Regions from separate parts of the Homo sapiens genome. Here regions 1, 2, 3, 4, 5 and 7 are each linked to region 6. The links are contacts of gene promoters, found by promoter capture Hi-C in blood cells and fetal thymus (Javierre and others, 2016). All regions are on one chromosome and are shown on one strand. The core of a region is centred on a gene start or on the middle of the fragment in contact, and the rest is flanking DNA. Distances in the headings are between cores, read along the strand shown. Region 1 overlaps GRAMD1C (GRAM domain containing 1C). Region 2 overlaps ATP6V1A (ATPase H+ transporting V1 subunit A). Region 3 holds the start of SPICE1 (spindle and centriole associated protein 1). Region 4 overlaps NAA50 (N-alpha-acetyltransferase 50, NatE catalytic subunit). Region 5 has its middle 14 kb from the start of USF3. Region 6 holds the start of ZBTB20 (zinc finger and BTB domain containing 20). Region 7 holds the start of NAA50 (N-alpha-acetyltransferase 50, NatE catalytic subunit).

Evidence for each region. The method cuts DNA at HindIII sites, captures the fragments that hold promoters and counts their contacts. A CHiCAGO score of 5 or more calls a contact.
Region 1: a fragment that was not itself captured here is called in contact with the fragment with the promoter of ZBTB20 in region 6 in 1 of 17 cell types (neutrophils); the score reaches 10.2 in neutrophils.
Region 2: a contact is called between a fragment that was not itself captured here and the fragment with the promoter of ZBTB20 in region 6, in 1 of 17 cell types (neutrophils). The highest score is 6.1, in neutrophils.
Region 3: the fragment with the promoter of SPICE1 here is called in contact with the fragment with the promoter of ZBTB20 in region 6 in 1 of 17 cell types (neutrophils); the score reaches 5.6 in neutrophils.
Region 4: a contact is called between a fragment that was not itself captured here and the fragment with the promoter of ZBTB20 in region 6, in 1 of 17 cell types (neutrophils). The highest score is 8.5, in neutrophils.
Region 5: a fragment that was not itself captured here is called in contact with the fragment with the promoter of ZBTB20 in region 6 in 1 of 17 cell types (neutrophils); the score reaches 9.5 in neutrophils.
Region 7: a contact is called between the fragment with the promoter of NAA50 here and the fragment with the promoter of ZBTB20 in region 6, in 4 of 17 cell types (neutrophils, fetal thymus, monocytes and 1 more). The highest score is 14.9, in neutrophils.

What each region holds. Positions count from the first base shown.
Region 1 is chr3:113,847,915-113,850,965 of GRCh38, forward strand. The region is part of intron 2 of GRAMD1C (GRAM domain containing 1C); the gene reads left to right. It also overlaps the pseudogene RPS10P4. Among named protein-coding and RNA genes, the nearest start is that of GRAMD1C, 11 kb to the left of the region's middle. The HindIII fragment of the contact is 5,215 bases long and covers 1-3,051 here.
Region 2 is chr3:113,806,163-113,809,218 of GRCh38, forward strand. The region is part of intron 14 of ATP6V1A (ATPase H+ transporting V1 subunit A); the gene reads left to right. Among named protein-coding and RNA genes, the nearest start is that of GRAMD1C, 31 kb to the right of the region's middle. The HindIII fragment of the contact is 5,942 bases long and covers 1-3,056 here.
Region 3 is chr3:113,513,507-113,516,534 of GRCh38, forward strand. SPICE1 (spindle and centriole associated protein 1) reads right to left here and starts at 1,650. Exons shown (of 18, transcript NM_144718.4): 1 at 1,391-1,650. It overlaps SPICE1-CFAP44 (SPICE1-CFAP44 readthrough (NMD candidate)), which reads right to left and starts at 1,650. Exons shown (of 52, transcript NR_183050.1): 1 at 1,391-1,650. RefSeq lists enhancers at 1,337-1,456, 1,517-1,566, 2,273-2,322, 2,833-2,882, 2,943-2,992. The HindIII fragment of the contact is 3,693 bases long and covers 506-3,028 here.
Region 4 is chr3:113,728,585-113,731,421 of GRCh38, forward strand. The region is part of intron 1 of NAA50 (N-alpha-acetyltransferase 50, NatE catalytic subunit); the gene reads right to left. Among named protein-coding and RNA genes, the nearest start is that of NAA50, 16 kb to the right of the region's middle. The HindIII fragment of the contact is 1,082 bases long and covers 810-1,891 here.
Region 5 is chr3:113,709,622-113,712,411 of GRCh38, forward strand. No RefSeq gene overlaps it. Among named protein-coding and RNA genes, the nearest start is that of USF3, 14 kb to the left of the region's middle. The HindIII fragment of the contact is 3,661 bases long and covers 1-2,790 here.
Region 6 is chr3:115,145,843-115,148,819 of GRCh38, forward strand. It overlaps ZBTB20 (zinc finger and BTB domain containing 20), which reads right to left and starts at 1,446. Exons shown (of 12, transcript NM_001348800.3): 1 at 1,377-1,446. RefSeq lists enhancers at 122-231, 1,962-2,171 and silencers at 912-1,181, 1,492-1,661, 2,222-2,441. The HindIII fragment of the contact is 9,545 bases long and covers 267-2,977 here.
Region 7 is chr3:113,744,824-113,747,829 of GRCh38, forward strand. NAA50 (N-alpha-acetyltransferase 50, NatE catalytic subunit) reads right to left here and starts at 1,426. Exons shown (of 5, transcript NM_025146.4): 1 at 1,119-1,426. The coding sequence starts at 1,126. ATP6V1A (ATPase H+ transporting V1 subunit A) reads left to right here and starts at 2,212. Exons shown (of 15, transcript NM_001690.4): 1 at 2,212-2,290. RefSeq lists enhancers at 270-1,006, 610-759, 1,007-1,742, 1,743-2,478, 1,800-2,169 and a silencer at 1,330-1,449. The HindIII fragment of the contact is 6,662 bases long and covers 1-2,780 here.

The DNA of each region.
Region 1 (3,051 bases), core at 522-3,021, 1.3 Mb before region 6:
TTAGGGATGTCAGAGCCATTTCACTGGAATACCCAAGGAACCTAGAGTTGTGCTTTTTCACTTTAGAGAGGTTTCTAGCAAAAGAATGGATAACTTTAAAAAGTATTGGTATTTACAGAGTTAAGCTACAGGGATCTGGGAAGTTCACTAATGTAGAATAATTCATATGTTCTAGCCTGGCTAAATCAGTTGTTCCACAGTAGTGAATTTAGAGGGCAGCATGATATAATTGAACACATTGGAGACTGCGAACAAAATATCTGGAATAGAGTCTCTGCTCTGCATCTGGTGATTTCAGGGTGTGGTCATCTTGAGTATGTTGCATAACCTGTCTCACCTCAGTTACCTCACCTATAAAATTAGAGATTGGGTCATGGTATTACAACACTGGTCTGTCTTGAATCAGTAGTAACCTCATGCTGTTTAACAGATTGGCTAATAAGTGCCTTTCTGACAGTAAGACTAATTTAAATAATAAGAATTAACTCTCTATGGCTGTTGATAGTGAGCAATGGCTTAAGATTTTCAGATTTTTTATTTCAATTCTATAGTTTAAAGATAGGAATCTTAGTTGTTGTATTTGTTTTTTTTTTTATTTTAAAATATTGGGCCAGACATTGTGGCTCATGCTTATAATCCCAACACTTTGGGAGGCCAAGGTGGGAGGATCACTTGAGGCCAGGAGTTTGAGACCAACCTGAGCAACATAGTAAGACCCCCATCTCAACAAAACAAAATAAAAATTAGCTGGCTGTGGTGGCTTGCACCTGTAGTCCCAGCCACTTGGGAGGCTGACATGGAAGGATTGCTTGAGTCCAGGATTTGAGGTTATGGTGCGCTGTGATCATGCCACTGCATTCCAGGCTAGGCGACAGAGAGAGACGCTGTCTCAATAAAATAAGATAAAATAAAAATTTAATTCTGTATGTGAGAAATGAGTTTTATTATTACCTTTTAAACCCTAATTAAACAATAAAAATTATGTGAAATGATGAAATGAAATTTAAAATAATGGCAAATATTTATGCTTTTGCCCATTAACTTAGTAAAAAAATATATAGCAAAATGTAAAACAAACAAACAACCAAAAAACTCTTAAAACAAAAGACTTACTTTCTTCTTGGCTAGAGTAATAGTATATTCCATGTGGATTAAGATCCCAGAGGCAAGGCAGACAAAGATCTGCAACATATGCATTTATTTAGTGCAAATTCTTTTAGCGATATAGAGTAAGCAACTATTGGGAGTAGAAAATAGCCTTTGAGATTGTTCATTGTGTGTGTTCAGAAGATGACATACTTACCTGGGATTTTTTAATAGAAGTAATAGTGCTTTGGATAAGCTAGTTAATATTTTATTTATTTATTTATTTATTTATTTATTTATTTATTTATTTTTTATTGATCATTCTTGGGTGTTTCTCGCAGAGGGGGATTTGGCAGGGTCATAGGACAATAGTGGAGGGAAGCTCAGCAGATAAACAAGTGAACAAAGGTCTCTGGTTTTCCTAGGCAGAGGACCCTGCAGCCTTCCGCAGTGTTTGTGTCCCTGGGTACTTGAGATTAGGGAGTGGTGATGACTCTTAACGAGCATGCTGCCTTCAAGCATCTGTTTAACAAAGCACATCTTGCACCGCCCTTAATCCATTCAACCCTGAGTGGACACAGCACATGTTTCAGAGAGCACAGGGTTGGGGGTAAGGTCACAGATCAACAGGATCCCAAGGCAGAAGAATTTTTCTTAGTACAGAACAAAATGAAGTCTCCCATGTATACTTCTTTCTACACAGACAGGGCAACCATCCGATTTCTCAATCTTTTCCCCACCTTTCCCCCCTTTCTATTCCACAAAACCGCCATTGTCATGATGGCCCGTTCTCAATGAGCTGTTGGGTACACCTCCCAGACGGGGTGGTGGCCTGGCAGAGGGGCTCCTCACTTCCCAGTAGGGGCGGCCGGGCAGAGGCGCCCCTCACCTCCCGGACGGGGCGGCTGGCCAGGCGGGGGGGCTGACCCCCCCACCTCCCTCCCGGACGGGGCGGCTGACCGGGCGGGGGGCTGACCCCCCCACCTCCCTCCCGGACGGGGTGGCTGGCCGGGCGGGGGGCTGACCCCCCACCTCCCTCCCGGACGGGGCGGCTGGCCGGACGGGGGGCTGAACCCCCAACTCCCTCCCTAGAGCCCCTCCAGCTAGTTAATATTAAATATTCTTTTGTGCTTTGATAATTCATTAAGATCTTTAAAAATATTTGTCAATTGTATATACTTACTTTTTTTTTTTGCTGTACGTTTATTCAATGCAAAATAATAATACTCTCCAGTTTTACTGAGGTGGCTGACCACGTCCACGACCAAATCTGCCTTTAAACTGGAATTCGGTTGCTGACACAGCCCCAGCCTCGACTTTCTTGTTGGCACCAGGGGGCACAAAACTCCGTCTGTAGGTATCTCTGTCGGCTTCCCCTTTTGTGAGTCTTGCAGGTCGCTCACCCTCCAGACCTTTAGGCCAAGGCCTGCCAGTCTCTGGATGGCTGCAGCGTAGGGTGGCAGCACAGTCTCCGGGGCAGATGAAGATAATCATGGAGATACTGGATGCCCTCATTGGTAAGGTACCAGTAGAAATGTCTCCAGGCAAACTGTTCCTTCACGTAGCCTCAGGACTTGAGAGACTGCATGGCCTTCATGACATGAAGGTTGGGCACATTCTTGTCTGCCAGCTCGGGTGCTTAGGCATGTGGACGTCCTTCTTGGCCACCATGACTCCCTCCTTAAAAAGGAGTTCATAAATGGCAATCCGGTTCTTCTTAGGCATCAACATCTCCGCTGCTGTAGGGTCCGGGGCTGAGGCTGGAAAGGATATACTTAATTTTTTTTTTATTTTTATTTTTTTAATTTTTATTTTTTTTGAGATGGAGTATTGCTCTGTCACCCAGGCAGGAGTGCAGTGGTGTGATCTTGGCTCACTGCAAACTCCGCTTCCCCGGGTTCACACCATTCTCCTGCCCCAGCCTCCCAAGTAGCTGGGACTACAGGCGCGTGCCACCACGCCCGG
Region 2 (3,056 bases), core at 235-2,734, 1.3 Mb before region 6:
TCTGGGAGGCTGAGGTCAAGGCTGCTGCAGTGTGCCATGATCCCACCACTACTCTCCAGCCTGGGCAACACAGTGAGACCCAGTCTCAAAAAACAAAAAAAATTAGTATGTCACGTCTAAAATAAATGCTGATGTGTATTCCCTTTTGTCTTAGTTGCCAGGCAAATTAGAGCTTACTTCATAGCTGAGCAACAGTTGCCTTACTCCAAGTGCCTATTAACCTCTAGCACATGTGTTCTTCTGAAATGACATCTTCTCTGTTTACTTCTTTTAAATATCATGTACTGCAGGTCATTTTTTAACTTTTTTTTTTTTTGAGACAGTCTTGCTCTGTCATCCAGGGTGGAGTACAGTGGCACAATCTCGGCTCACTGCAACCTCCACCTCCTGGGTTCAAGCGATTCTCCTGCCTCAGCCTCCCAAGTAGCTGGGATTACAGGTGCCTGCCACCACGCCCAGCTAATTTTTTGTATTTTTAGTAGAGACGGGGTTTCACCATGTTGTCCAGGCTGGTCTTGAACTCCTGACCTCATGTGATCTACCCGCCTCGGCCTCCCGAAGTGCTGGGATTACAGGCGTGAGCCACCGCATCCAGCCATTTTTTAACTTTTAAGTGGCCTCTTGTTCTTTTGGAAGTACACAAGATAAAAATAGATAATTAAATGAAATTATTAGTAGGAACTCAAATGTATAAGATTGTTTTTAAAATATTTGATCAGTTGAATTGTATTTATTTCTGTCATGACATCCAGGCATATTTACTAACCACCTACTGAGAATGATTCTCTGAGTGTATATGTAATATAAAAATTTTTAAATTATATATATATTTTGTGTGTGTGTTCACACTATAGATTGAAAGTAAACCTGTACAAATAGGTAAGCACTACATTGAGAGTTTAAAAACATTTACACCTTTTTAGTCTTGTCATTTCACCTTGAGATAAATAAACAAAGGAAGTAATCAGAATTTTGATACGGATATACACGGTCGTTTATTAAATTCTTTTTCTTTTTTTTTCTTTTTTTTTTTTTGAGATGGAGTCTTGCTCTGTTGTCCAGGCTGGAGTACAGTGGCACGATCCTGGCCCACTGCAACCTCCCCCTCCCAGGTTCAAGCAGTTCTTCCTGCCTCAGCCTCCCAAGTAGCTGGGATTACAGGTGCATTCACCACACCCAGCTAATTTTTGTATTTTTAGTAGAGACGGGGGTTTCTCTATGTTGGCCAGGCTGGTCTTGAACTCCTGACCTCAGGTGATCTGCCTGCCTCAGCCTCCCAAAGCGCTGGGATTACAGACATGAGCCACTACGCTAAACCAAATTTCTTAAATGTCACCCAAGAATGAACAGAGCCAACAGTACATTATGGTGTGTCCATAAGATAGATATTATGAAGGCATTACCATTTTTGTCAAAAATATTCAAAGACATGGAGAAATGCTTATGGCACAGAGTGAAAAAACTTCCATATGTAACTTGATCCAAATATTGTCTTAAAAAACTATATATTCATAGAAAGAGGATGAAGAAGAAATATACCTGTAGTAATGATGATTTCTATTTACATGCTTATTGTGTCAAATTAACATCACAGGTATTTTTTAATGTCATTACTCTTCTGTAGCATTGTTTTGTGGCTGGAGAGTAATATTTTTCTATTCTTAGACACTTAGAAAATTTCCAGTTGTTGGCCGGGCGCATTGGCTCACGTCTGTAATCCCAGCACTTTGGCAGGCCGAGGCGGGTGGATCACCTGAGGTCAGTTCTAGACCAGCCTGACCAACATGGAGAAACCCCGTCTCTACTAAAAATACAGAATTAGCTGGGCGTGATGGTGCATGCCTGTAATCCCAGCTACTCAGGAGGCTGAGGCAGGAGAATCACTTAAGCCCGGGAGGTGGAGGTTGCGGTGAGCTGAGATCACACCATTGCACTCCAGCCTGGACAACAAGAGCAAAACTCTGTCTGAAAAAAAAAAAAAACAAAGAAAAGAAAAGAAAATTTCCAGTTATTGGTGTGGACAACCATGTAGTTGTGTGTAGTTGGTTTTGTGCATTTTCTTAGTATGGAGTCCCAGAAGTGGAATGATTGGGTTAGAGACCTGGAACATTTTAAAGTCTGTCTCTTTTTTTTTTTTTTTTTTTTTCTGAGACAGAGTGTCACTCTGTCACTAGGCTGGAGTGCAGTGACGCGATCTCAGCTCACTGCAACCTCCGCCTCCTGGGTTCAAGCGAGTCTCCTGCCTCAGCCTCCCAAGTAGCTGGGACTACAGGTGCACGCCACCATGCCCAGCTAATTTTTTTGTATTTTTAGTAGAGACAGGGTTTCACCATGTTGGCCAGGATGGTCTCAATCTCCCGACCTTGTGACTCGCCTGCCTCGGCCCCCCAAAGTGCTGGGATTACAGGCGTGAGCCACCAAGCCTAGCTAAATTATCTTTTATACATATTACTCAGTAAGTTGCCTAAATTTTACTTTTCCATCCCAGTGTGATAATACCAGATGTTGAGCAAATTCTGTTTTGATTAAATTAATTCCTAATTATCATGCATTAAGTCATGTTCATCTAATATATGAAGCGGCATAATTTCCCACTATTGTGCACATTGTTGAGGATAAAGGCTTTGGTCACTGAATGTGGTTATCAGGCAAAATGCAAAATTAAAATTTTGTTTTCTTTCTGTTTGGTTGGATTTGTATCCTTAAGAAAAAGGGAAAATGAGTATAGTTTTACCTCCTGCCTGTGGTTTACCAGTGTCCCTCACTAAACCTAGTACTCAAAATATATAAAATACGAGTAACCTGGGCCAGGTGCAGTGGCTCACGCCTGTAATCCCAGCACTTTGGGAGGCCGAGGCAAGTGGATCACTTGAGATCAGGAGTTCAAGACCAGCCTGGCCAACATGGTGAAACCTGTCTCTACTAAAAATATGAAAAAAAAAATTAGCTGGGCGTGATGGTGGGCGCCTGTAATCCCAACTACTTGGGAGGCTGAGGCAGGAGAATCACTTGAAGCCAGGAGGTGGAGGTTGCAGTGAGCCAAGATCGTGCCACTG
Region 3 (3,028 bases), core at 400-2,899, 1.6 Mb before region 6:
AAAATACAGCTCATCATCATACCCCAAATCTCTACTTGCTGATATATAACTGGTTGACTCGATAAATATGTTCAATTAAGCTGAATTTACAGAATTACAATCCTAGTTGCTCCAATTTAAAACCTCAGCATCACCTCTGTTCCTTATCTCTTAGTGAATCAGATAACAGAATCTATTAACTTTTTCCCTAAAAATCTCTCTTGCCCGCTCTTCTCCATCTCTACTAAAAATATTTTTGTTCAGGCTCTCATTATTCTAATTAGTCTCCCTTTCACTCTTCACTCACTGACTTCATCATCCATCTATTAATGTAACTAATATTTTGAAGCACCATCTAAAAGCGAGGCACCAGATATAACAAGAAAGTAGAATAGTCTATGCCCTTGCAGAGTTAAGAGTTTCTAAGAGGACCGCAATTAAACAAGTATTTACAACAAAAGGGCAGCATGGGAAGTAAATTCTGTGTGCCATGAAAGTACCTAACTAACTCTATGCAGTAAGTAAAAGCTTCTCCTCTCTGTAATACCCCCAAAAATGTTTGCACTGAGAGCTAAAATACGAATAAAAGTTAGAAGCAGGGGAAAGAATATTCCAGGCAAGGGAAAATGCATTTACGAAGAGTTTGAGAAGTTCAGTTCAATTAACAAAGATCTGAGAGGGTGAGAGGTTAAAGGAAGAAAGGCAGACAGCAGATTGTAGTCTTGTGAGCCACAGCAATCTGAACACCTAAGACCATAGGAAACCACTGAAGAATTTTAAAAGGGATAGTTATGACTGGACTTAGTAAATCCACTCTGACTGGTGTGGAAAACTGATCAAAGAGAAACAAGAACTCTTTCCAAACACTGTTGAATCAATCCTACCTAAATACATGGATAGAGAATAGATCTGAACCCTTTACCTACTTCCTCTAGATTCGGATGGCTCCCCACTGTCAAAAGCAATCCAACTCAGCTTGGCATTCAGACCCTCTCCCCCATATGGCCCGGCTGACTTTTCTTTCCAGTGTTCTCTCACATCTCCCGCAAATCCTAAAACCAAGCTCTCGCCTCACACACAGTTGCAACCATTCTTTTCCCTCTGCTTGGAACACTCATTAGGCTCACTCTCTTCTCTACTGGGTTAACTTCCACGGACTCCTCAAAACTCACAGGAGGAGCCTTCTGAGAAGCCCCTCTGACATCCATCGATTTAAATGACGCTCCCGGTCCCAAAGCACCCTGGATAGTTTGCCTCTCTCCTGCTACACGGTGAACTCCCCCAACGCTACAATCGAGCACCCCCAATTACCAGCTCTGTGCAAAAGCTCCCGAAAGCGGTGCGCACGCGCATACTCGAGGTGCTCTGGCGCCACGCACAAACATACCCAGACACGCACCCTGACACGTACTTGCACTCTCAAAACACAGAGCCGCGGCTGCGCTTCCTGAAGTAAGGATTCCCCAACCGGGCGCCTGGATCCCAGGCAACAGACAGATGCCACCACCGTTCTCCCCACCCTTTTGGTAGCCCTGGTCCCTAAGGCTCGTTGGGACTGCGAGCTGCAAGCCTCAGATCCATCATCTCAACCTGCCTTGCAGTCGGTCCCGACTGCCGCCGCCACCGCAGCTAAAACTTCAGGCGCCGGAACCGCGGAGCGCGCCACAGGTTAACCCAGCCAGCGGCTTCCGGGCTGTTGCCTGGGTTACCAGAGCTCCGCCCCACGCCCTTGCGTATATCCGGCGAGCCCAGTGCGCAGGCGCCTCCCAAAGCCTATCTCGGGTCCTGAGTCTAAGGGAGAGAGGTTCCTCTGCAAGGTTCAGGGCAAATTATTAAAGAATAGGTATATAGCAGGCCGGGCGCGGTGGCTGACGCCTGTAATCCCAGCACTTTGGGAGGCCGAGGCAGGCGGATCACGAGGTCAGGAGATCGAGACCATCCTGGCTAACACGGTGAAACCCCGTCTCTACTAAAAATACAAAAAATTACCCGGGCCAGGTGGCGGGCGCCTGTAGTCCCAGCTACTCGGGAGGCTGAGGCAGGAGAATGGCGTGAACCTGGGAGGTGGAGGTTGCAGTGAGCCGACATGGCGCCACTGCAGTCCGGCCTGGGCGAAAGAGCGAGACTCCGTCTCAAAAAAAAAAAAAAAAAAAAAAGAATAGGCATATAGCATTAGCCGGTGCCTCGAGAATTCTCCAAAAGAAAGATGTTGCTCTCCTCACCAGACTTCACATATCACTTAATTTGCTTTCATCTCTATTCATTTGTTTACAAATCTTTAGTAGTGGAATCCCAGCACTTTTGGAGACAGAAGCAGAAGGATTGCTTAAGCTCAGGAGTTTGAGACAAGCATGGGCAAGATGGCGAAACCCCGTCTCTACGAAAAATTAAAAAATTAGCTGGGCGTGGGAACACGCCTGTAGTTCCAGCTACTCAGGAAGCTGAGGTGCGAGGATCGCTTGAGCCAAGGAGGGCAAAGCTGTAGTGAGCCACAGTCATACCACTTCACTCCAGCCTGGACGACAAAGCAAGACCTTGTCTCAAAAAAAAAAAAAAAAGTTGTTTATTACAACCTACAAATGTGCGGGAGAGCTAGGTTCTATGGGGCTAAAAACAGGCAAGGTGGGAAACTTACAGCATATTAACAGACAGTTATCAATGACAAAAACATTAAAATTATGACGAGTGCTAAGAAGGAAGCACTCTAACCAAATACTTAGCTTATTATTATAGTAATATTTGAATTACTCAGGAAAGCTCAGACATGAATAGGCCAGTGGGGAAGGGGAAAGCATTCCTGCAGAGGGAGCTGCATGTGCAAAGATGTGGAAAATGCAAGGGACAGGAAGAGGTCCAGTGTGTCTGAAGTTTAGAGAACAGTGGGAACTTGCTGTGAAGGGGAGGCGCCCTGATAGGCTGGATCCACGACAGTCAGAGCTGCGTGGACCACGTTAAGAACTTTACAAAGCACTTGATTCAAAAACAGAGTTTATTTGCTCTGGTAAGACAATTTCCTCTAGCCCCTTGCTTTCTGCTGTTACAATACACC
Region 4 (2,837 bases), core at 101-2,600, 1.4 Mb before region 6:
ATCAAGTATGCTTGTGTATAAATGCGGAAGCTGAAAAAGAACCAATTTTATGACGGCCTCGTATATGGACGCATTTGGTTATCTTCTCTATAATTATTCTCTTGGTGATCTCATTCAATCTTGTAGTTGTGTGGCTTTAATGCTGCCAATTTCCAAATTTCTGTCTCTAGCCTATAGTTCACTCCTGAACTCTACATTCCTAGATCCAAGCAATCTCCAGCAGACACTTCAAAGTGAACATACTGCAAACAATTTCAAATCTTTGTTCCAAAATCTGCTTTGCTTGCAGTTTTTCCTGTCAATTGATGGCCTCTCCATCCTTGGCTGCAGTATATGTTAACTCCAAGTCTTTGTTCACATGGTATCTCAAAAAGGCTTACTCTTGATACACTTTTTTCCTTTTCTTTTTTTTTTTTTTTGAGACGGAGTCTCCCTCTGTTGCTCAGGCTGGAGTGTAGCGGTGCAATCTCAGCTTATTGCAACCTCCGCATCCTGGGTTCAAGCAATCCTCCTGCCTCAGCCTCCTAAACAGCTGTCATTACAAGCATGTGCCACCACTCCTAACTAATTTTTGTATTTTTAGTAGAGATGGGGTTTCACCATGTTGGCCAGGCTGGTCTTGAAATTATGGCCTCAAGTGATAGGCTCGCCCACCCTGGCCTCCCAAAGTGTTGGGATTATAGGCGTGAGCCACTGCACCCAGCCCTTGTAATATTCTTGATATGTTTTCTTATCAGGGTTATCTTGGCCTCAAAGAAAGTTTGGAAGTGTTTCTTCCTTTCTGCTGTTTCATTCAATCAATAAAAGAAAGCTTCAGGTATTTTCAAATTAGAAAGTGCACAAATATTTAGGACTACTGTTGATAATTTGACGCTTTTATCATTTTGAAATATCCTTTTTGCTGGCAATACTCCTTGTTTTAAAGTCTACTTTGTTCATTAATACGCAGTTTTCTTTCTTTCTTTTTTTTTTTTTGAGATGAGGGTCTCAACTCTGTTGCCCAGGCTAGAGTGCAGTAGCACAGTCTTGGCTTGCTGCAAGCTCCGCCTACGGGCTCAGGGGATCCTCCTGCCTCAGCCTTCCAAGTAGCTGAGACCTCAAATGCATGCCACCACTTTCAGCTATTTTTGTTTTGTTTTGTTTTTGTATTTTTGGTAGAGACAGGATTTCACCATGTTGCTCAGGCTGGTCTTGAACTCCTGAACTCAAGCAATCCACCTGCCTCAGCCTCCCAAAGTGCTGGGATTACAGGGATGAGCCACCAGGCCTGGCTTTACAGCTTCCTTCAAATCAAAGTTTCATGTTCTATCTTTTACCTTTTTCTTTTTACTTTTCCTTGTGTCCTTATATTTAAAGTGTGTGTAAATAGCATATAGTTGGATCTTATTCTTTTAATCTGACAATTGGAGTATCTGGTCCATTAAGATTTAATGGGCCAGGCACAGTGGCTCACACCTGCAATCCCAGCACTTTGGAAGGCTGACTCGGGTGGATCACTTGAAGCCAGGAGTTCAACACTGGCCTGGCCAACATGGTGAAACCCTGTCTCTACTAAAAATACAAAAAATTAGCCAGGTGTGGTGGCGCGTGCCTTTAGTCCCAGCTACTTGAGAGGCTGAGGCAGGAGAATTGCTTGAACCCAAGGGCAGAGGTTGCAGTGAGCCGAGATCGCCACCACTGCACTCCAGCCTGAGTGACAGAGTGAGACTGTTCAAAAAAAGATTTAATGTAATTATTGAATTACTGATTTAGTTGATTCAAGTCCATCAGCTTGCAATTTTCTATTTGTACCAAGTATTAACTGTTCTTCATTTTCCTGCCTTTTATGGGCATCAGTTTTGATTGATTCCTTGGCTTTCGGAAAAAAAAAAGAAAAAAAAAAACTTTTTAAAGCTTACATAAAATTAAATTCATCTTTTTGGTGTATAGTTCTGAGTTTTTACAAATACATATAATCATGTAACCATTACCAAAATATACAATTTAATTACTCCCAAAACCTCCCACATGACCCTTTAAAGTTCAACTCCCAAGCAGCCACAAATCTCTTTTCTGTTCCCCAAAGTTTTGCCTTTTCAAGAATGTCACATAAATGGAATCACAAAATACATAGCTGCTTGTTTGGTTTCTTTCATTTAGCATAATGTCTGAGACTCACCCCGGTGTTGTGCATATCAATAGCTCATTCCTTGTTAATGCTGAATGGTATTCCATTATGTGGATGTACTGTAAATTTATCCTCTTGTTGAAGAGCAGTTGTTTACAATTTTAGGTAACTGCAAGTAAAATTCCTATAAACATTTACATATAAGTTTTGGTATGAACATAAGTTCTTATTTCTCTTAGTAAATACCTAGGAGTGGGAATGCTAGGTCTTAAGTGTATAGGAGTTCTACTGTTCTGAATCTTCATCAGCATTTGGCATTGTTAACTTTTAAAATTTATGCTAACAGGTATGTAGTGACAATTTATTGTGGTTTTTAATTTGCATCCCCCTAAATAATAAATGAAGTGAGCATCTTTTCATGTATTTCTTTGCCATTCATGTTATCATCTTTGATAAATTAATTAGTTCAGATTTCTTGTCAATTTTTTAAAAACTGGTTTTTCTTGAGTTTTGGGTGTATTATGGATACTTGTCATTTGTAAGTTATGTATGTTGCAAAGAATTTTTACCAGTCTATGGCTTTTTTCATTTTCTTATTGTTTTTGGGAAAGTTTTACATTTTGACAAATTTATTTCATGGATTTATTTCTGAGTTGTATTCAAGAAATATGCCTAACTCAAGATCACAAAGATTTTTATGTTTTCTCTAGACATTTTACATTTAGGTGTA
Region 5 (2,790 bases), core at 229-2,728, 1.4 Mb before region 6:
AAGAGATCCTCCTACCTCAGCCTCCCAAGTAACTAGGACTACAGTTGCATGTCACCATGCCTGGATTTTTTTTTTTTTTTTTTTTTTTTGTAGAGACAGACTTGCTATGTTGCCCAGGCTGTTCTCCAACTCCTGGACCCAAGTAATTCTCCTCCTTCAGTCTCCCAGTGTTAAGATTACAGGTAGGAGCCAACATGCCCAGCCTGTATTTACTGTTTTTAAAAAAACTGCCAAACTGCTTTGCAAAGTTTGGGTACTATTTTATATTCCCACTAGTAGTATATAAGAGTTTGAATTTTTCCACATTCTTGGCGACACTTTATATGGTCAGTCTAATAATTTTCATCTTATTATTATTTTTTTTGAGACTGGGTCTTGCTCTCTTGCTCAGGCTTTATTGCAGTGGTGTGATCACGGCTCACTGCAAACTCCTGGGCTCAGGTGATCCACCCACCTCAGCCTCCTGAGTAGCTGGGACTACAGGTGTACACCACTATGCCTGGCTAGTTCTTGTATTTTTAGTAGAGATGGGGTTTCACCACGTCCCAGGCTAGTCTTGAACTCCTGGGCTCAAGAGATCTGCCTGTCTTGGCCTCCCAAAGTGCTGGTATTACAAGTATGAGCCACCGCGCTCGGCCATGATCAGTCTATTTAAATTCTCATCATTCTAATAGGCACATAATGATATTTCATTATGACCTTAATTTGCATTTCCCTATTTACTAATGATGCTGCACATCTTTACATGTGCTTATTAGCCATTTATATGAATTGATGAAGTGTTGTTCAAATGTCTTGCCCATTTTTACTGGGCTGTTTTTTGTTTACTGAGTTTCCAGGGTTCTTTATATATTCTGATTACAAAACCTTTTTCAGATATATGCTATGCAAATGGTTTTTCCCAGTTCCCAGTTTGTATTTTCATTTTCTTATCTTTCACGTAGTAATTTTAAATCCAACTTATCAATTATTCCTTTTATGGATTATGCTTATGATGTCATAACTAAGACATCTTTGACTAACACAAGGTCACACAGATTTTCTCATGTTTTTTCTTCTAGATGCTTTTCAGTTTTATATTTAGATTCATTCTGTATTTTAAATTAATTTTTGCATATCGTGGAGGTGTGGATCAAAGTTTATACATTTTATTGGAAAATCCATTTCTTCCAACATTGGTTGTTGAAAAGACTATCTTTCCTCCACTGAATTGTTTGTATCTGGGACAAAAATCAAGTGACCATATATTCACTGATGCATTTTCGGACTCTTATTCCATTCCATTGATATATTTGTGGGCATTGACACCAACACCACACTGTCTTTATGCAGCTTTATGTGTCTTAAAGTCAAGTAGTGTTAAGTCCTCCAGTTGTGTTTTCCTTTTATAAATCGTATTAACTCTTTTCTTCACGTTTCCATGTAGACCTAAGCTCATCAATTTAAACAGGAAAACACAAGCCTTCAGTGTTTTTGACTGAGATATATATAATTTGATATGAGGACAAGTGACAACAATATTGAGTTTTGAGATTTATGAACATGTTATATTTCTGCATTTATTTGGATCTTTAAAAATGTTTCCCAGCAGTGTTTTATAACTTTTCGTATACATGTCTTACATATATTTTGTTAAATGTATCTCTAAATCTTTTTACATTGTTATATTATTAATTTTCCATTTCAAATTTTTTAATTGCTGGAAATACAACTGATGTTTGTATTTTGTGACCTTACTACACTCCTTTATTAATTCTAGTAGCTTTTTTTTAAAAAAGATAATCTTAATGTTTTCTACTTAATCATCTGTAAATAAAACCATTTTACTTCGTTACAATCTGCATACTTTTCTTGTTTTATTGGACTGGCTAGTCTAATATACAATTTTGCACTTACTGAAATCCACTGCAATATTGTATGGCAATGGTGAGAGCAGCCATCCTTGCCTTCGTCCCAAACTTAGTGGTAAGGCATTCAGTCTTTCACCATCAAGTATGGTGAAAGCTCTTATAGATAACTTTTTCAGATTAAATAAATTCCTTTTTATTCCTATATTGTTCTAACTCTTAAAAAATCATGAATGGGTGTTGAATTTTGTTGAATACCTTTTTCCTGCATCTATTGAGATAATAATTTAAAGATCGTTAATATGATAAATTACACAAATTAGTTTTCAATTGTTAAATCAACCTCTCATTCTTGAGACTAATCCTATTTGATCATAATATATCCTTTTAATATATTGCTGGATTTGATCTGCTAATACTTTCTTAAGGATTTTCCAGTCATAATTCATGAGAGATATCGGTCTATAGTTTTCTTATAATGTCTTTGTCTGGTTTTAGTGTTGGTATAATGCTGTCCTCATAAAATGAGTTATGCAGTATTCTTTTCTATTTTCTTGGAGTAGGTAGGATTGGTATCACATCTTCCTTAAATATTTGATAGAATTCACAAAAGAGGCCATCGGGCCTGGGATTTCTTTGTAGGGAGGATTTTAACTACAAATTCAATTTCCTTTATATATACGAGACTATTCAGGTTTCCTATTTCTTTTTCTTATGAAAACAGCTTTACTGATATTGTTGCACACCATACAATTCACCTATTATGACCGAACAATAGCTCTTTCTGTGGATATAGTTGATGGACACTTGGGTTGTTCTCACCCTTTGGCTATTATGAATGCTATGAATACTCATGTACAAGTTATCATGTGGACATTTCTGATGTATATGTTGCTGAGTCATATGGTGACTGTCTAACTTTTACAAACCTCAGACTTTCCTC
Region 6 (2,977 bases), core at 196-2,695:
GTAATTGTGTTTTAAAACTTTCAATGGCAACAAGTTACAACAGTAACTTCAGAATAGCGTTCACTTGAAAACATTGGGTGAATGGCCTCTATAATTTTTTTAGCTGAAATGTATACACCGCCACGCAGTGAGGAAACTTGACTTTAGCACCCTTTTGGTATTTTTAATAGAAAAAACAGTGGAGAAGATTTTCACATGTCTAGAAAGGTAACATGTTCAACTTAGGTTTGGCCAATGCTGATTCTGAGGACAGTACTACACCCGCAAGCTTCCAAACTACTTCCTGATTCATTCAGATTTTCATTGGAGAGCTGTCATCCTGCTACTGACCTCATTCAACCCAGTTCGGAGTGAGAGATCAGCGGATTACCGCGCTAGGTACCGTAGCTGTACGCCATATTGTGTTTTTCGCTAATGTTTAGTTTGTGTGTGTGCCTAGCATATGTTTGTGCAAGTGTGTTTATCAATAGAACTTTTAGAAAATCCCTGCCTCCTGCCTCTTCAGCATCCTTAAAAAGGATAACAGCTGGGGGCGGGGGGTGGGGGGAGGACCCAAAAGCCACACAGACAGGAATACATTAAACAGTGTACGAGAGACGGCATTTGTTTTAAACTTTCAAGAACCTTCCAACCATTTTTATATCAGGAATCAAAAAGTGTTAACATGTTTTAATGTTTCCGAAGTGGCCCAAAGAAGAGAAAGAAGGAAAGGTGTGTCTTCCCTTCCCAAGCCCCCTCCTCTCTAGTCGTAGAAGCGAAGCAGGCGGGGGCCGGGAGCTCCGGCGTCTGGAGAGACATCCAGCGGCTGTGGGGCCAGGACACCTCCTGCCCCCCAGTTCTCTGAAGACGCTCCAGAGACCGCGAGAGCCACGGCAAGCGGGGGAGGGCGAGGAGGGAGGGGGCAGAAGACAAGCGGGCGCCTCTAGCAGCTCCTGAGCCCCGGCTAGTCCCCCTCAGCTCCTCTTCTTGGAAGCAGCGGCTCCAGGCGCAGGGAGTAGAGAGAAGAAGGCAGAAGACACGTTTCCAGCTGCGGGACGTCCCGCCCGCCCCGCCACCCTTCGACCCTCCCGCGCCTCCCTCCCACCTCCCCGCCGGGTCGGGCGAGGCAGCCGCCGGGCGCTAAGAAGGGCGCCGGGGGAGGGGGCGCGGGCGGGGCGGGGCGGGGCGGGGCGCGGGGGCGCGCGCGCTCATCCAGCTCAGGGCCCGCTGGCTCGCCGCTCTGTAACTCGCTCCCCCAACCCCACCCCGCTCCCCTCCTTCCCAGTCCCGCCGCCCCCCACTCCAGGCGCCTCGCAGACGCCTCATCCCCCTCGGCACGCACACACTCCTCCCTCTCTCCCGCCCGTCCCACAACAAATTAGAGTTTGTGGCATTACCTCCTCGCGCTCTTTAATCTTCTTTCCTCAACTCCTAAACTTCCCCCCGCCCCTACTTCTTCGGCAGAAGGCCCACATTGGACGCTTCACTCCGCGAACCCTCTATCTCTCCCCGCTATAGGATAGCTCTCACGCCAATCTTGGCTTCAGTGAGCCAATGAGAATGGGACGCCCCTCGTGAGGTTGCCGCCCATAAACAAAATGCACTCTTCCTTCTCCCCTCCGCCCCCCCGTCCCCGCCCCTTTCTTCCTCTTCCCTCATCTCTGTCACCTTCGATTGGGCTAAAAGAGGCCCAATCCGCTATCTCAAACATCCATTGGGACGCGGAAACTTCGCTCAGAGAAGTATTAACAGGCGATTGGTGGACAATCCTTCCACTTCGCCCACCCCCACAACCCCCTCCCCCCGCCGCACCTTCACCCTTTCTGAAAAGGTCAATCGTATCTCGTTGTTCAGTGATCCGGGAGGTGGAAGGCTATTGGTTCAGGGAGCCCGTCAGACCGGACTGGAGTGAGCCATGATTGGTCGACACAGGCGCAATCAGGTTAGGTTGCTTACTCCTCCGCTCCTCCCTCCTTTTCCTCCACGCCCCATCTCCCCCACCCCCTACTGCTTTTACTTTCTACGCATTTCTATTTCCTCCTTTATTTATTTATTTGTGATAAACTTAAATGACCCGGCGACGGAGGCGGTACTCTAGGAGAAGGCTGAGGATGACGAGCGGCGGCCTGGGGCCAATTGCCGAGAGGGCTGCGGGGTGAGGGGCAGCGGCGGTGGCCAGTGAGAGGCAGGTGTCTGGAGCGCGCTGGGCCTGTGGAGCCGGGATGCCCCAGCGGAGGCGGCGGTTACCCGCTGTCTGGCGCGGCGAGCTGCGCCGGGGGAGCCGCGGGAGCGGAGAGGGGGGTGTCGCTGTCTTGGACAGCTGAGGCAGCGGGATGGAGGCTGGATCCCGGGCGGTGGGTGGGAAAGCCGGAGGGAGGGTCTGGCTGGCGGCAGCGCGCAAGGCCGCACCGGGTCACGCTTGATTCCCGCGGAATGGGGCGCAGGTTGCCAGACCGGGTCCCCAGTGCTAGGGCTCAAGGAAGAATTTGTTCATGCAGAAGATTTAGAAAAATACTATGTAAAAGAGTTTGGAGTAAGCCTCCCTTAATATAAATGAGATTTATTATCCTGCCGGAAAAAGCAGATTATGTTTCTTATTACTGAACGCCTGAAGTACCAACGACTCAACCAGAGCCCACAGAATTCAATATCCTGGGTGGTAAAAGGAACAAATAAAGCAACACGGAAAATTAAGTGTGGTTCAAATGCTTCAATAAAATCTTCGTCCTCAACCATTTGTCATTCAACATAGCACTCCCCAGAGCCAAATTCTTACCAAATATTGGTCCAGTACTCAGGCATTGGAGAAAAAAATGAGGCTGAAGTCCAGCAGGAAGCCCAGGATAGATTCCTAAAAAGGATTTCTTACAAGGGCCAAGATGGGAGGGTTGGGGAAATCGCTTTTCACTATACAAAGAAAAAAAAATAATTACTGCCAAACTAAGTTGCACTTTTTTAGGCAGCTGATATAGCAATATTTTGTCACAAAATAAGAGAC
Region 7 (3,006 bases), core at 176-2,675, 1.4 Mb before region 6:
CCTCAAATACCGATACACAGAGGTAATATTTAGGTCCTTGTTTGGGGCAGTATGAGATTACGTTGAAAGTGACTTTTATTTCATCCTCAAAAGTGCTATTGAATAGTTGGAATGACTTCGTTAACTTAAAACATAGTTACGACTTCTTAATCGACTTACAACAACAAACTATGGCATCGCAGAGAGCTTTTTAACGTTTATGAGCTTCATCTCTTTGAGGGTAAAGACAAGCTCCAAAACGGCTTGAGACAATGCTTCGGAAAAATGTTACGTAATTAATACATTAAAACTATACAACTTAATGGTAAGGAGACATTTCATAAAAACTTAACCAGTCGATCCAAAATAATTCCTAATTTTACGTAAGAGGCAAACGGTGAAAGACCGAACATTAACTTTGCCAATCACCTGAAAGGAGCAGCGTGGTAGAACTACCCAGGACCGCCTCAGCACTCAGGGGCAATAGTGAACTACTGAAGCAACAGCTCCACCTACTGATCCACCCTATACTTCCTTAAATATGTTGGCACCCCAAGTCTACAGTGATCGCGCTCTCTCCCCCTCCTCCACTCGCTGTGACCCAACCCAAATCTAGTTGAGTCACTAGCTCTTAATACTCATCCCCGTGCTCTTTATTCCAATTTCTTCTTCCTCCAGAAGGTTCTGCACAGCTCCCAAGCGTGAATTAAACTGAAAGGTGTCAAACACCGCAGTTCCAGAGTTGAGTCTGGAGGTGGAAGACAACCAAACCACTCCACCTGGAGCTGCGGGCCGGCGTGGCTCAGCGGTCCGCTCCCGGGAAGGAGGCCCCGGGCGCTTCACAATAGCCTTTCCATGTTGCCCCACTCGGTCGCTTCTCCCCACTCAACAACCCACACTCGTCTCCGAACCGAAACCCTGAAGCCCCCCGGGTCTTGCCTCCGCTGGCCCTTCAGCCCGCCAACAGCCCGAGCCTCGCCTCCGCCCCCTCCGGGAGCCGAGGGAACTGAGAAGCAGAGAAATCTCCCTCCGCCCGTCTTCGCCCTGAATCTCTCCTCGCCTTTGCGGCTCTCCCCCTCTACATGGGCCCGGACCCTTCTACCCCACCGGCCGGGCCCTGCCCGGCTGCCCTTCCTCACCCTTTCATCTTCCCCGCCTGCTGAGGCCGTCGTTACCACCGATATCAACGCCGTCGTAGTCGCCGCCCTTAGGTCTCCGCACCCTTAGCTCGGGCCACTCAACCCCGCAAGCCGGCCTCCTAGCCTGGGCAGGGAGCTGTGCGAGCAACGAAGGCCGCGAGAGTCGAGTGAGGGCTTGAGTCTGGTGGGGGCGGGAGTGTCTCCCGCCGCCGCGCTTGTGCCGCCGCTTCTCCACACGTGCACTCGGGTCTCTCGGCTCCCTCCCGCCGCTGCCGCCAGCCAGACCCGCTGCCGCGCTGTGACCTTTCACCCCGCCCCTCGCGCGCCGGCGCGCCGCCGCCTCACGCGCAGCCGCACTGCTCGCCTCCGCGCACCCTGCCCCCTCCACTCCGGAACCTCCATCTTTCTCCTGGACTGGGCCTTCTGGGGTCATGCTCCTCCCTCCCACCCGCTTACGACACTGCTTGTGGGGCTGGCTCGGTAGGCCCTGGCGGTAAAATCCAGATTTTTCCACCCCTCCCTCTCTTGTCCCATATCCGCAAGATAGTTTTTCTCAGCCCCGTTCTTCCCAGTTTGTGGTCTCCAGAGTGACCTTCAAACGCTGTTGCCTCCTAGTAGGGTTTTATAAAGTTAGTTCTTCTAAATGTAAAGAAATCTGTGGAAAGCTCAAGTTTAAGTTAGGTGTTTTAAAACAAACGTAGTTAACAATCGGCCAGATAGATTGGCTACCCTCCAGCACGCCTCAAGTTTTAAGATCACGTGATTGGCCCAAACCTCAGAGCCTGGAATTTTACCGGCGGACTCCAGAGGGACGGAACGCCACCGCCATTTCCTGTCCCTCGATTGTGGCGTGAACGTCACTTCCTTAGCAATGCGCTTTAACTCTTGCTGTCCACATTTTCCACATTGTACTTTATAACATACTCTTTGTGAAAATTTATCTTTTATTTCTTTAATCCAAGAAAATTAATATTCAAGGGATCCGTAAAAATTCAGGCCCCCCGAGATGTAGAGCGCTGGGATGGAGGAGGCAGGGCGGAGCTCGACGTCATGTGACTGGTTGGGCCCGCCCCCCCCCCCCCCCCCAACCTGTGCAGCTGAGGACTTCCCCTCCGTGGTGACAGCCTCTGGGTCCTCGGTCGGTACAGTCTCTGCACCTCGCGCCCCAGCAGGTGAGCGGCGACCGGTAACTGGCGAGTGGTGGGGATAGAGGGGGTGGAAGGAGGCAGAGGAAGGAGAGAAGGGAGAGTGTGAACGGCGACTTTTCTGCCTGAGGCTTCCTCCCCGCTGTCACCCTGCACCGGCAAGGAGCTCATTTCTCCTTAACCCCCGCTCCCCCAAGTGTGGTCGTTCCCGCTACTTGGGGATTCAGATGTCCACCTTTCCCAGGGTTGGAAGTGAGTGCGGCCATTATGGTTCCCTACTCAGAGCCTTTGGGGCTTCGGGTAGCAGATTGTTTCAGCCATTTCACAGGGTCTGCAGTAGACATTAGGTCCCATTCCTTAAAGCCCATTCTTTGGCAAAGGTCCTCACTGTCCTTACCCTCAGCTCAGGGCTGAGGAGCGGGGAGGTAGCAAAAACCCTGGAGGCAGAGGCGTCTCCGGTGAGACAGGCTTGGGAGGGACTGTCACTGATACGGCCCTCACTGCAGAGTCACTGTGAAGCTTCCCTCCGAATGTGCTTTCTCAGTGATTCTAAGGATTTTATCTGACATACCTGCAGGGAAGGTTCCGTAGATGTTCACGTGCTTCGGATGGGACTAGAAAAGTAAAAGAAGGGCTTTTACTTTTTCTTCTCTGCAGAGAGGACAGTTGAAGGAATACTGTCTTCAAAACAGGAGGTGTTAGTAATGCGACAGTCTCGATTGAATGAGGAGGCGTTGAAAGAT